Regions from separate parts of the Homo sapiens genome. Here region 2 is linked to region 1. Evidence: promoter capture Hi-C in 16 types of primary human blood cells and fetal thymus (Javierre and others, 2016). All regions are on one chromosome and are shown on one strand. Each heading gives the region's core, a stretch centred on a gene start or on the middle of the fragment in contact. The rest is flanking DNA. Distances are from core to core; before and after follow the strand shown. Region 1 overlaps IDH2 (isocitrate dehydrogenase (NADP(+)) 2). Region 2 holds the start of ANPEP (alanyl aminopeptidase, membrane).

Region 1 (6,087 bases), core at 2,197-4,696:
TCAGCCAACAGCTAGCTCCCTCGCTCGCCTGCTCTCTTCCCCTCTGTTCCCACGCCAGCTCCTGCCCCTGGAACCAGAGATGACAGGCCCAGGGCAGTGAAATAGCACATTCAGGAACTCTAGGGCACCCGGACCCCCCCACCCACTTGCCTCCTGAGGCCTCAGTGGGGAGGGGCAAGCAGGGGTCTTCCCCAAAGGCACAGATGAAGCCACTAGCTTCAGCCTAGAAACCCGGAGAAGGGAACAGCCTGCGGTGGGAGGAACCAATCTGCAGCGCAGCCACCCCCAAGGCTGGATCCTTAAGTGAAGGACCAAGCCAGGCCTCAGGGTGACTGTGATCAGGACTGAGGGGTGGACAAGGTGGCCCAAGTATGGCTTCCAGACCCCGAAGCCCCACGACCTCCCAGGTGCCCGCCATGATGACCCTCAGGTGGCAGTGACCCCGTCACTGTATAAGACATTTTCTCCTGCTGAGCAGAAGGCATCATCCCCTGCAACTACCTCTTCCCACGTCTTTCTCCCCTGGTACCAAAAAGAACCCTGTACCTCTCCTCCTCCTCCTCCCTCCTGCCAGTGCAGTGGCCTTGGTCTTGGAAACTGAAGGGAGAAGGTCTGGCCCCCAGGGTGGGGCTCTCCTTTCCCTCCCCCAGCCCCGCCGTCAGCACTGGCCCTCTGTGAGGTTCGATACTTGAACGCCCCCTGCCCTGTGCCTTGGACCTGGGCAAAGCTAGGAGGAGGAAACAGCACAACTCACAGTTTGAGCTGGGGGGTGGTCTTGGCAAGGCTCCTGTCTGTACCCCTCCCTAACCTTCTCAAAAGAGGTGCACAGCCTCTCGGGTGACTTGGAAACTCCTGGACAAATTCCATTCTAACTTATTTTGACATGTATACAAACCAACTGTTTAGAGATTCCACTTGTGCAAAGCCCTACTGTGTTTTTATGTTCCTGTTTAAAAGAGAAGTTTACTTAGCAATAATTATAAATAAATGAATATTCTTTAGTGAGGTGACTGCAAATGCTTCTTTCCCCAGCTCTTGGGGACCTGGCCCTCACTCCCAGCAGGAACTCCCAGCAAAACTTCCCAGCCCCACACAGCAGGGCTGCACTCTCCCAGGGCCCGGGGGAGGCTGAGACCATCCTCTGCACTGGAATGGCCCCCTGCAGGGCCAGGCGCCTATAGCCAGCTGCCCCGGGCCCAAGAGAGTGGTGTGGGCCACGGCCCCTGTATTCCCACCACTTGCAGAGAAAAGCTGCTTCCCCTCCCTACCCACCCACATGGCTTCAGGAAAGAAGCCAGCTCCCGATGCCAGGCTGGGCTTCAGAGGCTGCGTTCTGCAGAGCTGCCAGCCCCGTGCTGGTGACAGGCAAGAAGAGGCAGGAAGCCTTGAGCTTCCTCCCAGGGGCTGGGCCTGCTAGAGCCAGCAGTCCACGTTTCTTCTTATAGCCCTGAGAGTTTCAGGGCATTACTCAGGAAAAGCAAGCGGGGGGTCACCAGTGTGGATGGAGGGCTAGAGCCCTTCCAAAGCCACTCAGTCTACCGCAATGGTCGGGTTTCAGGAGCCATAGGAGTCCCCCCAGTATTTAGGAAAGGGACTTTGTAAGATGGGGTTTTGAGAGATGGGGTCTCACTCTGTTACTCAGGCTGGAGTACAGTGGTGCAGTCATAGCTCACTACAGCCTCAAACTCCCGGGCTCAAGTGATCCTCCCACCTTGGCCTCCCAAAGTGCTGGGACTATAGGCATGAGCCACCACACCTGGCCAGGACTTTATAAAGATTATACAACTCTTCTCCAGGACATTTTAACACCAAAAAGAAGAAGCTTTGCAGAACTTACTATGCAGAGGACAGTCCTTTTGATTATATGTAGCTTTAGAGCAACTTTTATTTTTCCTTTTTACATGGGGCTAAAAAACTTGCATAGAGCAATTTTTTTTTTTTTTTTTTTTTTTTTTTTTTTGAGACAGAGTCTTGCTCTGTCACCCAGGCTGGAGTGCAGTGGTGCAGTCTCGGCTCACTGCAACCTCTGCCTCCCAGGTTCAAGCCATTTTCCTGCCTCAGCCTCCCGAGTAGCTGGGACTGCAGGTGCGCATCACCACGCCTGGCTAATTTTTGTATTTTGAGTAGAGATGGGGTTTCACCATGTTGGCCAGGCTGGTCTCGAACTCCTGGCCTCAAGTGATCCACCCACCTCAGCCTCCCAAAGTACAGGGATTATAGGCGTGCGCCACTGTGCCCGGCCGAGAACAATTTGTCACAAGCTTACTTTTCTAGTTTTGCCAATGCATGGTGAAAGTGAACCCAAGCCTGGGAACTGCAGGCCTAGACAATGCAGGGCCCTTGTTCACACACACCCAAGCCCCTCCAAACTCAGGCAGCCTTGGAAAGGAGAAGTGTGAGGCAGGTGTGGGTAGGACCTCTTTTTAGTACCTAGAAAAAGGCTAAGAAAGTGGCCTGGAGATGTTTAGAAGGTTAAAACCAACGAAGAAAAAAATCAATGACAACCTATCAGGAACTGATTGACTCTCAGAATGGAGAACTGGACACAGAAACTGGATCATGCTAGAAAATTCCAGGGAACCCACAGGCCTGTGCCCTGAGTGTCCGAGAACTCCGCAGTGGGCCCCTGTGGAATGCGGGCTCCCAGGGCTGCCTGGTCCCTTCCCTGCCGTGGCAGCCCCTTCCTGAGGTGCTCTGGTCTGCCCCAGGGGAACCTGCCAGCTCTAGCAGGGCCTCTGCCTCAGGGTCCCACTACCTCCTCCCCTCAGGGACAAACACAGCAGACAATTTTGTGAAGAGCTTTTTAGTAGCTAAATATGGCACCATGTGTTCCAAGGGCAATATAAATTACAGTATGCAAAACATACTGACTGGCTGAGGTAAAACGCACTGCTCCTGCCTCACGTCACCATGAGGGGAAACACACATATGCTTTTAAAAACATCTGGCTTATAAAAAAACATCCCCTAGAAAGGCCTCCAGAGAGGGGCTGTGAGGCTCACCCTCTGCCGCGCTCAGGAGGACCCGCCGGCTCAGCCCTGGCCCCTCCACTGCAGCCATGGGTGGCGCCTCCCCCTACTGCCTGCCCAGGGCTCTGTCCAGGTTGCTCTTGATGGTGTCGAGGAAGTCCGTGGTGTTCAGGAAGTGCTCGTTCAGCTTCACACTGCAGAGAGAGCACCACTCACATCAGGGGTGGCTCCAGGCCTTGCCAAGGCCATCAGCCAGGCCCTTCCAGGGAACAGCCTGAGCTTGGGCATCAGAACAGCCATCTCCTGCCACCCAGACTACAGGCCAGAGGCCAGCTATAGCCCCCTACCATGAGGCCACCGAGATTCGGCAGGCACCCGCAGGGTCTGTCTTGCCAGGTAACTGCTCTCCTGAGAGAAGCTGGGAAAGGGGTGTGGGCAGGGTCGGAAGGAGCTCTGAGTAGCCAGCCTCAGGGATGGGGAGGAACTCACTAGACCTGGTCTACAGAGGCTGGCCTGAGCAGTCTCTCAGGGCTGTGGACATGTCCTGCCCCAGGCCCCCTTGCAGCTAAGCTGACTCATGAGGGGGACTTTAGGAGGGGTCCCCTGGCTTCCTCCCACATGGCCCCAGGGTCTGCCTACCACCCCAGGCCACGCACTTGCTGAGGCCGTGAATGCAGCCCGCCAGGTCCTTGGTCATGGCTCCACTCTCCACCGTCTCCACGCACACCTTCTCCAGCATCTGGGCAAACCTATGGGGATGGGGCAGAATGAGACCCCATCTGTGCAAGGGCAGGACCCAGAGCCTGTCCTGGGCAGCTCCGGCCTCTCCCTCCATGCTCACCTGATGAGGTCTTGGTTCCCATCCAGCTTCCCCCGGTGCTCCAGGCCACGTGTCCAGGCAAAGATGCTGGCGATGGGGTTGGTGCTGGTGGGCCGGCCCTGGGGACGGGGGTTGCAGGGAGATCAAGAGCCGAGCCAGCTAGTGAGGAGGCTGCCCAGATACAGCTGCCCGCCCCTGGGCTGGTGGGTCAGGCTCGTCCTTCCAGCCCTCAGCCCAGTGGGCTTTAGGCCCCTGGGGTAGAGGGGCATTGTGAGGCCCCATGCCCTGCACTCACCTTCTGGTGCTCCCGATAGTGGCGGGTGACGGTCCCATGAGCGGCCTCAGCCTCAATCGTCTTCCCATCAGGGCAGACCAGGACGGACGTCATCAGGCCAAGGGAGCCAAAGCCTGGAGGGTAGAAAGCCTTTCTCTCAGGGCCTCGCCTCTCCTGGGGCCACCCAGCTGAGCCCTGCTGCCCTCTACAACCCAATATTGTAGCTGCCATAGTTCGTGGCTCTACTCAGCCTCCCCCAGCTGCAACTGGGAGGACAGGGACTGTTCCAGGTCTCTTCACCCTCCTGTGGGTCTCCAGGGCCCAGCACAGGGCTGGAGGGCACTGGAGGGTGGCTATCACCAGCACATTAACATCCATCTGTGTCACCAGCTCCAGGCGCCCCACAGCCTGTGGCCCACAGGGCCCAAGAGGCCACAGAGTCCTGTGGTCCCCCACAGCCTGCCACCCAGCCTGGCTCGTGACCCGGAGGCACATTCAAGGAAAACAATAAAGCTGTGGTCAGCTATTTCCCAACAATCACTTTTGCAGCTACTCTCTTAGGCCACTTTCAAGCTTTTTGATTAATTTCTGAATGCTCCCAAATCCACATGTCAACTCCAGCAAGCTTTTCTATTGTCAAGGACTCCAGGGCTTCAAAGGCACCCCCATGACACCAAAATAAGGATTGAAGAAAGAAAACATGGACAACATCTACAGGAAAATGCTTTGTCTATGAATTCTAAGAATTTTGGCTGTAAGCAATCCCTTCTCCATTTTACCTGCACCTTCACACCATTCCTTAGACACTTAAGGTTCATTTTCATGCCTCTGCCTCATCTGCTATGGCGTTTCATCCTTCTATCCTAGATGGGAATTGTTCGGTGAGAGGATCCCCACTGAACTTTCCAAAGTAAAGCCAAAGGTTTACACAAAGTAACAAGACTCTGCTTTTCATCAGAACCCGTCCTGGGCTTCCCTTTTCCCCATACCAGGAGCTGCCCTGGTAAGCTTAGGTTTCTCTTTCACTCTCTATGTCCTGCCTGTTTCCCACACCTACCACCTTTCCTGCTCTTGTTCCCAACACAATTGGCCCATTTCTCGCTGTTCTTCTCTAATGGTCTCACCTATACTTTATTTTTTATTTTTTATTTTTTTTGGAGACGGAGTTTCACCCTTGTTGCCCAGGCTGGAGTGCAATGGCGCAATCTCGGCTCACTGCAACCTCCACCTCCTGGGTTCAAGAGATTCTCCTGCCTCAGCCTCTCAAGTAGCTGGGATTACAGGTGTCCATGACTGTGCCCGCCTCCATGCCCAGCTAAATTTTTTTGCATTTTTAGTAGAGACGGGGTTTCGTCATGTTGGCCACGCTGGTCTCAAACTCCTGACCTCATCACCTATACTTTTTACTGCAATCTGATTTGTCTTTTAGGACACCCTAGGGCTTGGGGGTTTGCAGGCTTCCCCAACATTCTCTTCCATCCATTAGGTTCACTATGCAAAATGCATTCGCTGTAGTTTAAAGAACCTCCAGTCCCGCTTGATCCCATTTTCCTACTGGAACCAAAGAGTCATGAGGCTCCATCATGGACTGGAGCAACCTTAGGGCTGTCAACCTAGCCCTGGAATTCCTGTGCCCTCCTTTCTCTCTAAGAGCAGCCTCAGTCATACACCAGTCCAAACCTAATTTGTGATCCTCTCTCACTCAGATGCCAGGGAGCTCCTGCCCCCTGCTGTCCACAGAGGACCCTGCAATGAGTCCTGCTCCACTAGAGTTTTCTACCAAAAGGGTCTGAAAATCCCTCCAGCCAGAGAAGACCAACAGTCCACCCCCACAGGGAGCAGCGTCCTCCCAGCGTACCCTGGGCCAGGATGTCTGACTGCACATCTCCGTCATAGTTCTTGCAGGCCCACACAAAGCCACCCGAAGACTTGAGGACCTGAGCCACCATGTCATCAATGAGCCGGTGCTCATACCAGATCTTATTCTTGTCGAAGTCGGTCTTATAGTGCCTGGGAGTAAAAAG
Region 2 (6,087 bases), core at 2,223-4,722, 270 kb before region 1:
CTCATGCTTGTAATCCCTGCACTTCGGGAGGCTGAGGCGGACGGATCACGAGGTCAGCAGATCGAGACCATCCTGGCTAACACGGTGAAACCTCATCTCTACTAAAAATACAAAAAATTAGCCGGGCGTGGTGGTGGGCGCCTGTAATCCCAACTACTCGGGAGGCTGAGGCAGGAGAATGGCATGAACCCGGGAGGCGGAGGTTGCAGTGGGCCGAAATCGTGCCACTGCACTCCAGCCTGGGCGACAGAGTGAGACTCCATCTCAAGTAAAAAAAAAAAAAAAAAGAAAAAAAGAAAAAATTGTTCCTCTAGGTAGCTCCTAAAAGGATCCTGTCCAGTTGCACCCGCTTTGGGAACTGCTGCTCCACCCTGTATGATGTTGGGGTTGCTGGCCCTGCGGGTTGTCTTTGGTGCAGGCTCTTTCTGCCAGTGAGCAAAATGCATGTGTTCCTTTCGCTGTGAATTTCTTGACGGGGTAGAAGCCGAGCTCTCAACCCACTTCAACTAAAGCAGCCTTTCTATGGGTTTATGTATTTCTTCCCTGCCTATGTTTTAGTCCAGAAAACGTAAGTTCTTCTAAACTAAAACCAAAGCCAAAACCAAAAAACATGAAGGTTGACAACGATCATGCCAGGGCATAACTAAGTCACAGTCACAGTGTGGAAGACACCCACACTTGTGGGTGGGGAGAGGCTCCTTGGTCTCAGATGTGAAGTGCAAGAGGCTTTCTACTCTAATATGAAGACTCCAGGAGCCTGGGAGGGGCTGTGGCCGGGAGAGCTGAGCACCCGTGGCCGGGTGAGCTGCTGTGTTATCCATGCTCCATCCCCGACCACTGGGTCCTTGGGTAGGCCCCACCCACTCCCACTCAGTGTCCCTGACTGTGAACTATGAGACTGGGAGCTCAGGGACAACCTGGGGCTCATTGTCTGCTCTGAGGGAGCAGTGAGCGAGAAGGGTAGGGACGAGGCTGGGCCTGGGCCAGGGCACACTCTGTCCCCGCAGGCCCCTGGCTTTCTCCCAGGCTTCTGAGGCCTCCGCCCATAGCTGCATCACCCCAGGGTGCTTCCTCTGGGAGCCTTGGACATTGCCCCTCCTGCAAGAACCTCAGAAGGCCCCAATGGGAAGTTGCCTCTCATCAGCCTCTTCAGCCCAATGCAGGGCACACAGGAGGAAGGAGCAGAGGCATTTGTGGGTGGGGGAAGTACACATAGGGTTTGTGTGGGGCCACAGATCCTGCCTGGCAACTCCTGTCTGCCAAATGGGGGGTGATTATCCTGGTGAGACACATGGTAGGTGAAACTGAGCACCTACTATGTGCCCTACCAGGATAATCACCCCCATTTGGCAAATGAGGACACTGAGGCACAGAAAGGTTAAGTGATTTGCCCAAGGCCACACAGCTAGTTAGCAGCAGGTTCCACAGCTTAACTACATATGCCTCCTAAAAATGTCCTCCCATACAGCCCCTCACATCTACTGTGGCCGTGCCAAGGGGAGTTGAAGACCACAGGAGAAGACACGCACCCATTTGGCCAGACCAGGGCTGGGAGCTGGGGGTAGTTCTCAGAAGTAGAACTTGTTAGCCAGGGAGTGCTGGGGGCTGCTTCCAGACACAGGCCTGTGGAGGACCCACATCTTGCCTCCAAGGTGTGACTGGGACCACTGTAGGGCCAGGAGTGACAGGCACCCGGGGTGAAGCCCGGGCTAGGGATAGATGGCTGCCAGCCTATGTGAATAAGGACACCCCAGGGCCTCGGTGTGCGGCTGACACACTGTCCATGCCATGCCTCCAGGGCTGTCCAGGAGCCCCAGCATAGGGTTCCAGATCTCCCACCAGAGCCAGCCCAGGAACTGGACCCAGTTCCAACACCTTGGCTCCTTCCGACATGGGGACCCCCATCTATGTCCTCAGAATGCCTAGCATACAATTCTTACAGCGATGGGGCTGGAGGCCTTAGCTTAAAGGCTGTAGGGGTGTAAGGAGCGCCAGCGTGTAACGAAGGTCTCATTCCCCAGAAGGCTCTGGGGGAAGCACAGGGCAGGCGGCTGGGCTGCCTCAAGACACTGGGCCGGTTTCCCCACCTGTGAAGCGGGAGCAGCGCTGTGGGTGGCCTCCTTGCACTCATAGTGTGGCCTTCGAGGCTAGGGCTCCACAGGAAGGTGGCTGAGAGTGGATGAGGGCCTCATGGGCCCAGCACACCCTCCCACAGGGAGAGGGGAGTCCACCCTCTTCCCTGCCCAGCTCCCCCATACCCACTGGGGCTAGCCAGCCTTCCTGTGGGACAGAGGCTGTCCCCACTTCCTCCTGGTCACCCCTACCCCACACGCCCACCTCCCCTCCACAAAACACATACCCTGAGGGGCCCTCTGGTCCAAGCCTCCCCTTTCACAGGTGAATTAACTGAGGCCCAGTAAGGCCAGGGCGTTTAGAGACTCAGGGATGAAGCCACATCAGACCTCAGGTCTGGCTGAGACCAGGGCTCTGACCACCCCCGAACACGGCCTGGTGGGTTGCAGTCCAGGGGCTGAGGTGGGGGAGGAGTGGGGATCCAGTCACAAAACCCCAGGACATAGCCCACCTGGGCCGTCCCTGCCCACCGCACTGCTGGGGGGGGGGGGTGCGTTCTGGAGTCATTTGGGGAAAGGATCCCATTGGCCCTGTTTAGGGGACCTTTTCCCAGACCAAGAGTGGATTGCAATGGGGCCCTGGATCTGTCTCAGTTGCTCACCAGGGAGGGCGTGGAATAGGCTCCACAACCCCCAAACCTCGGTCCCCATCCATGCCCCGGCATCTTGGCCGGGTTGTAGGAGCGAGGGAGAACGCGACTGTAACGCGGGCGTTGAGCACCTAGAGTTCCCCTTCCTCTTCACTGAGAGCTGCGGCGGAGGCTTTAGACCGAGGAGCGAGATCTAAGGTTAAAGAAAGGGCCTCTGAGCCCAGTGTTGGCCAGAGACCCCACAGGCGGGCCGGGTTCGCCCTTTGCCTTCGGCCGCGCCCCACCCACCAGGGACAGAGTGGCCGCGGCCGAGCCGGGTCCACCCGCCGCAGCTTAGCTCCGCTCCGCCGCCCTCCCCGTCCGTCCTCCCCAGGCTCCCGTCGCCCTCGCCCACCCTGGGGCCCCCTCCCCAGATGGGAGCCCCTCCGACCCCTGCGAGGCCCGCTGGGGACCCACTTGACCGCGAGATCGTAGTGGGAGCTCGGCCAAAAGAATTCTTCGCTTTCCCTGGCCCTCAGTTTACCCATCTGGGAAGAGGGGCGTCGCGGCCGCAGAAGTCCAGCTCCGCACGCGCCAAGCGCTGGGTCTGCAGCTCCCTCGGTTCCCGCGCACCCAACTGCCCCACGACCCCTACCCGCGCCCGCAGCCCCCGCCCTCCCGCCCCACTTGCCTGGGCCGCCGGGCGCTGGAACCTGGACCCTGGACCCTGGCGGGTTCCGAGCTGCGCCGCCGCCGTCCCTGCCCCTCCAGCACTGGACTCCTCCTTTCCCGTCTTTTTAAAGGGAAGTAACCGGACCCGACCACTACTCCACCCGATTCACCCCTAGCGGGCCGCCCGCCCGCAGCTCCGCCCGGGCTCCTCCCCCGTCCGCCCGCGGCTTCCCGGGAGCCCCCCAGGGCTCCTCCGCTCCTCCGACGGCCCGGCCTTCCCCCCGGGGCCTGGGATGCACCAGGGCTCCTGCTGCCCCCGACGGGGTCCCTGTCGCCGCAGCCCGCGGGACCCGCCGGCCACATCTGGACGGCATCTGCCGCGGGGGAGGGGCTCAGAGCCTCGCCCTGAGTGTCCCGCAGGGAGCCTTGTGCATCCGGGGCAGGAAGCCAGCGCATCCCGTGCAGACGGGTGGTGCAGATAACGGACCCGCCACAGCACGCAATTCAACTTTCTTGGTACCTGGGACTCGTAGTTCAGAAGGCGCAGTAGCACGACCTTGCGAAAAAGCACCGGAGTCGGGAACACGCGCTTCTCATTTTTTTCTTTTTCCTTTATTTGTTTTTGAGACAGAGTCTCGCTCTGTCGCTCACGCTGGAGTGCAGTGGCACTTTCTCCGCTCACTGCAACTTCCTCCTCCTGGGTTCAAGCGATTCTCCTGCCTCAGCCTCCCGAGTAGCTGGGACTACAGGTGCACGCCACCACGCCTGGTTAATTTTTGGAGTTTTAGTAGAGACAGGGTTTCACCATGTAAGGCTCGTCTCGAACTCCTGACCTCAAGTGATCCGCCCGCCTTGGCCTCCCAAAGTGCTGAGATTACAGGAGTGAGCCACCACACCTGGCCTGCGCCTCTCATCTTGATCCTGCTTGCAGAGGTTGTGCAGCCACCGGAGCCCCGCCAGGGTGGGGCTCCCTGTCTCTGAGCAGCTTTAATGGGCGGTACCAGATAATATTTGTATTGGTTCCCTGTGGCTGCCGTAACACAAACATAAAACAACACTAATTTACTATCTTACAAGTTTTGTAAAATCAGAAGTCCAAAATGGGTCTCGCTGGACTAAAAGCAAGGGGGTTGAGGGATACAGCTTTCTTGAGGCTGGAAGGGAACCTGTTTCTTTGGCTTTTCTGGCTTCTAGAAGCTGCCCACATTCCTTGGCTGGTGGCCCCATCCATCTTCAAAGCCAGCAGTGGCCCACCAGTCTCTCACAATCTGTCACTCTGACACCAACTGTTCTGCCTCTTGCTTCCACTGGTGAGCATCTTTGTGATTACATCGGGCCTACCCAGATAATCCAGGGTAATCTTTCTATTTTAAATCAATGGATTGGCAACTTGAATTCCACCTGCAACTGTAATTTCCCTTCGTGGGGTAGCATAACATATTCACAGATTCTGGGCATTAGAACCAGGGCATCTTTTGAGGAGGAGGATATGATTATGTCTACCACAATATTCAAGCTGACTTCCAGACTTTCAGATTTATAATCAAATTTAAGCTCTTCCTTATCCATGATTGGAATCCTTGGGACAGTTAAAGCCTTGCACTGCATGGTCCAAATTGATGGCTTTGTGACTGGCTGTGTTTTATTATTTTACTTGCACTTGCTCTTCTTTTGGAAACTTCATGGAGGACCAGGGTACCTCTAGGTAGCAGCCTTGCTTCTCCTTCCTAATTTGCTCTGTACTCTTAAAAACCAGGTCACAAACATATCGGAATATAGAATTGTGTGTAAAGTAAGAGTAAGTAGGCTGTGAGTGAGACCTCAGAGGCTATTTTGTTTTTTTTCTCTCTCCAGTCTCATGCATGTCTGACTCTCTCCACTATCATATCTGGCATAATCTCCTCCATGTCTGACAAGCCAAGGAAAACACTACATCAGGCCAGGAGAGAATCTTCCCCCCGGAGCTCTGCCTCTCCCACCCAGGCTCCGCGGAGATTTTAAGAGGAGTAAAGATCCTGCTGTGGCAGAAGTGCAACCCAGCTTTCTGGAGGGCAGTTTGGGGTTAGGAATGAAGATCACTTTCAGAAATTTAGCCTGAAGAGGCTGGGCGTGGTGGCTCATGCCTGTAAGGCAGGTGGATCACTTGAGGTCGGGAATTCAAGGCCAGCCTGGGCAACCTGGTGAAACTGTGTCTGTACTAAAACACAAAAATCAGCCAGGTGTGGTGGCGCATGCCTGTGGTCCCACCTACTTGGGAGGCTGAGGCACGAGAATCGCTTGAACCTGGGAGGCAGAGGCTTCAGTGAGCTGAGATCACATGACTGCACTCCAGCCTCGACTACAGAGCAAGACTGTCTCAAAAAAATAAATAAATTTAGCCTAAGGAAATAGAATATTTATATGCAAGGCTTTTCACTGCAGTATTACTTATAATACTGGAAAATCAGAAATAGCCTAAGTGGGCTGGGCGTGGTGGCTCATGCTTGTAATCCCAGCACTTTGGGAGGCCAAGGCAGGCAGATTACGAGGTCAGGAGTTCGAGACCAGCCTGGCCAATGCAGTGAAACCCTGTCTCTACTAAAAATACAAAAATTGGGTGGGCATGGTGGTGGGTGCCTGTAATCCCAGCTACTGGGGAGGTTGAGGCAGGAGAATCGCTTGAACCCGGGAGGTGGAGGTTGCAGTGAGCCGAGATTGCGCCACTACACTCCAGC

What was found. The method cuts DNA at HindIII sites, captures the fragments that hold promoters and counts their contacts. A CHiCAGO score of 5 or more calls a contact.
Region 2: a contact is called between the fragment with the promoter of ANPEP here and a fragment that was not itself captured in region 1, in 2 of 17 cell types (neutrophils and monocytes). The highest score is 6.3, in neutrophils.

Annotation. Positions count from the first base shown.
Region 1 is chr15:90,081,191-90,087,277 of GRCh38, forward strand. IDH2 (isocitrate dehydrogenase (NADP(+)) 2) reads right to left here. Exons shown (of 11, transcript NM_002168.4): 7 at 5,922-6,073; 8 at 4,085-4,197; 9 at 3,811-3,908; 10 at 3,626-3,718; 11 at 1,855-3,163. The coding sequence ends at 3,076. It overlaps ZNF710 (zinc finger protein 710), which reads left to right. Exons shown (of 5, transcript NM_198526.4): 5 at 1-1,001. It overlaps ZNF710-AS1 (ZNF710 antisense RNA 1), which reads right to left and starts at 1,017. Exons shown (of 2, transcript NR_146321.1): 1 at 249-1,017. RefSeq lists enhancers at 2,788-3,288, 3,289-3,789, 5,895-6,087. The HindIII fragment of the contact is 2,375 bases long and covers 2,260-4,634 here.
Region 2 is chr15:89,811,380-89,817,466 of GRCh38, forward strand. It overlaps ANPEP (alanyl aminopeptidase, membrane), which reads right to left and starts at 3,473. Exons shown (of 21, transcript NM_001150.3): 1 at 3,393-3,473. RefSeq lists an enhancer at 3,042-3,541, promoters at 3,409-4,563, 3,409-3,897 and cis regulatory regions at 3,512-3,517, 3,769-3,897, 3,805-3,808, 3,807-3,836, 3,854-3,856. The HindIII fragment of the contact is 11,363 bases long and covers 1-6,087 here.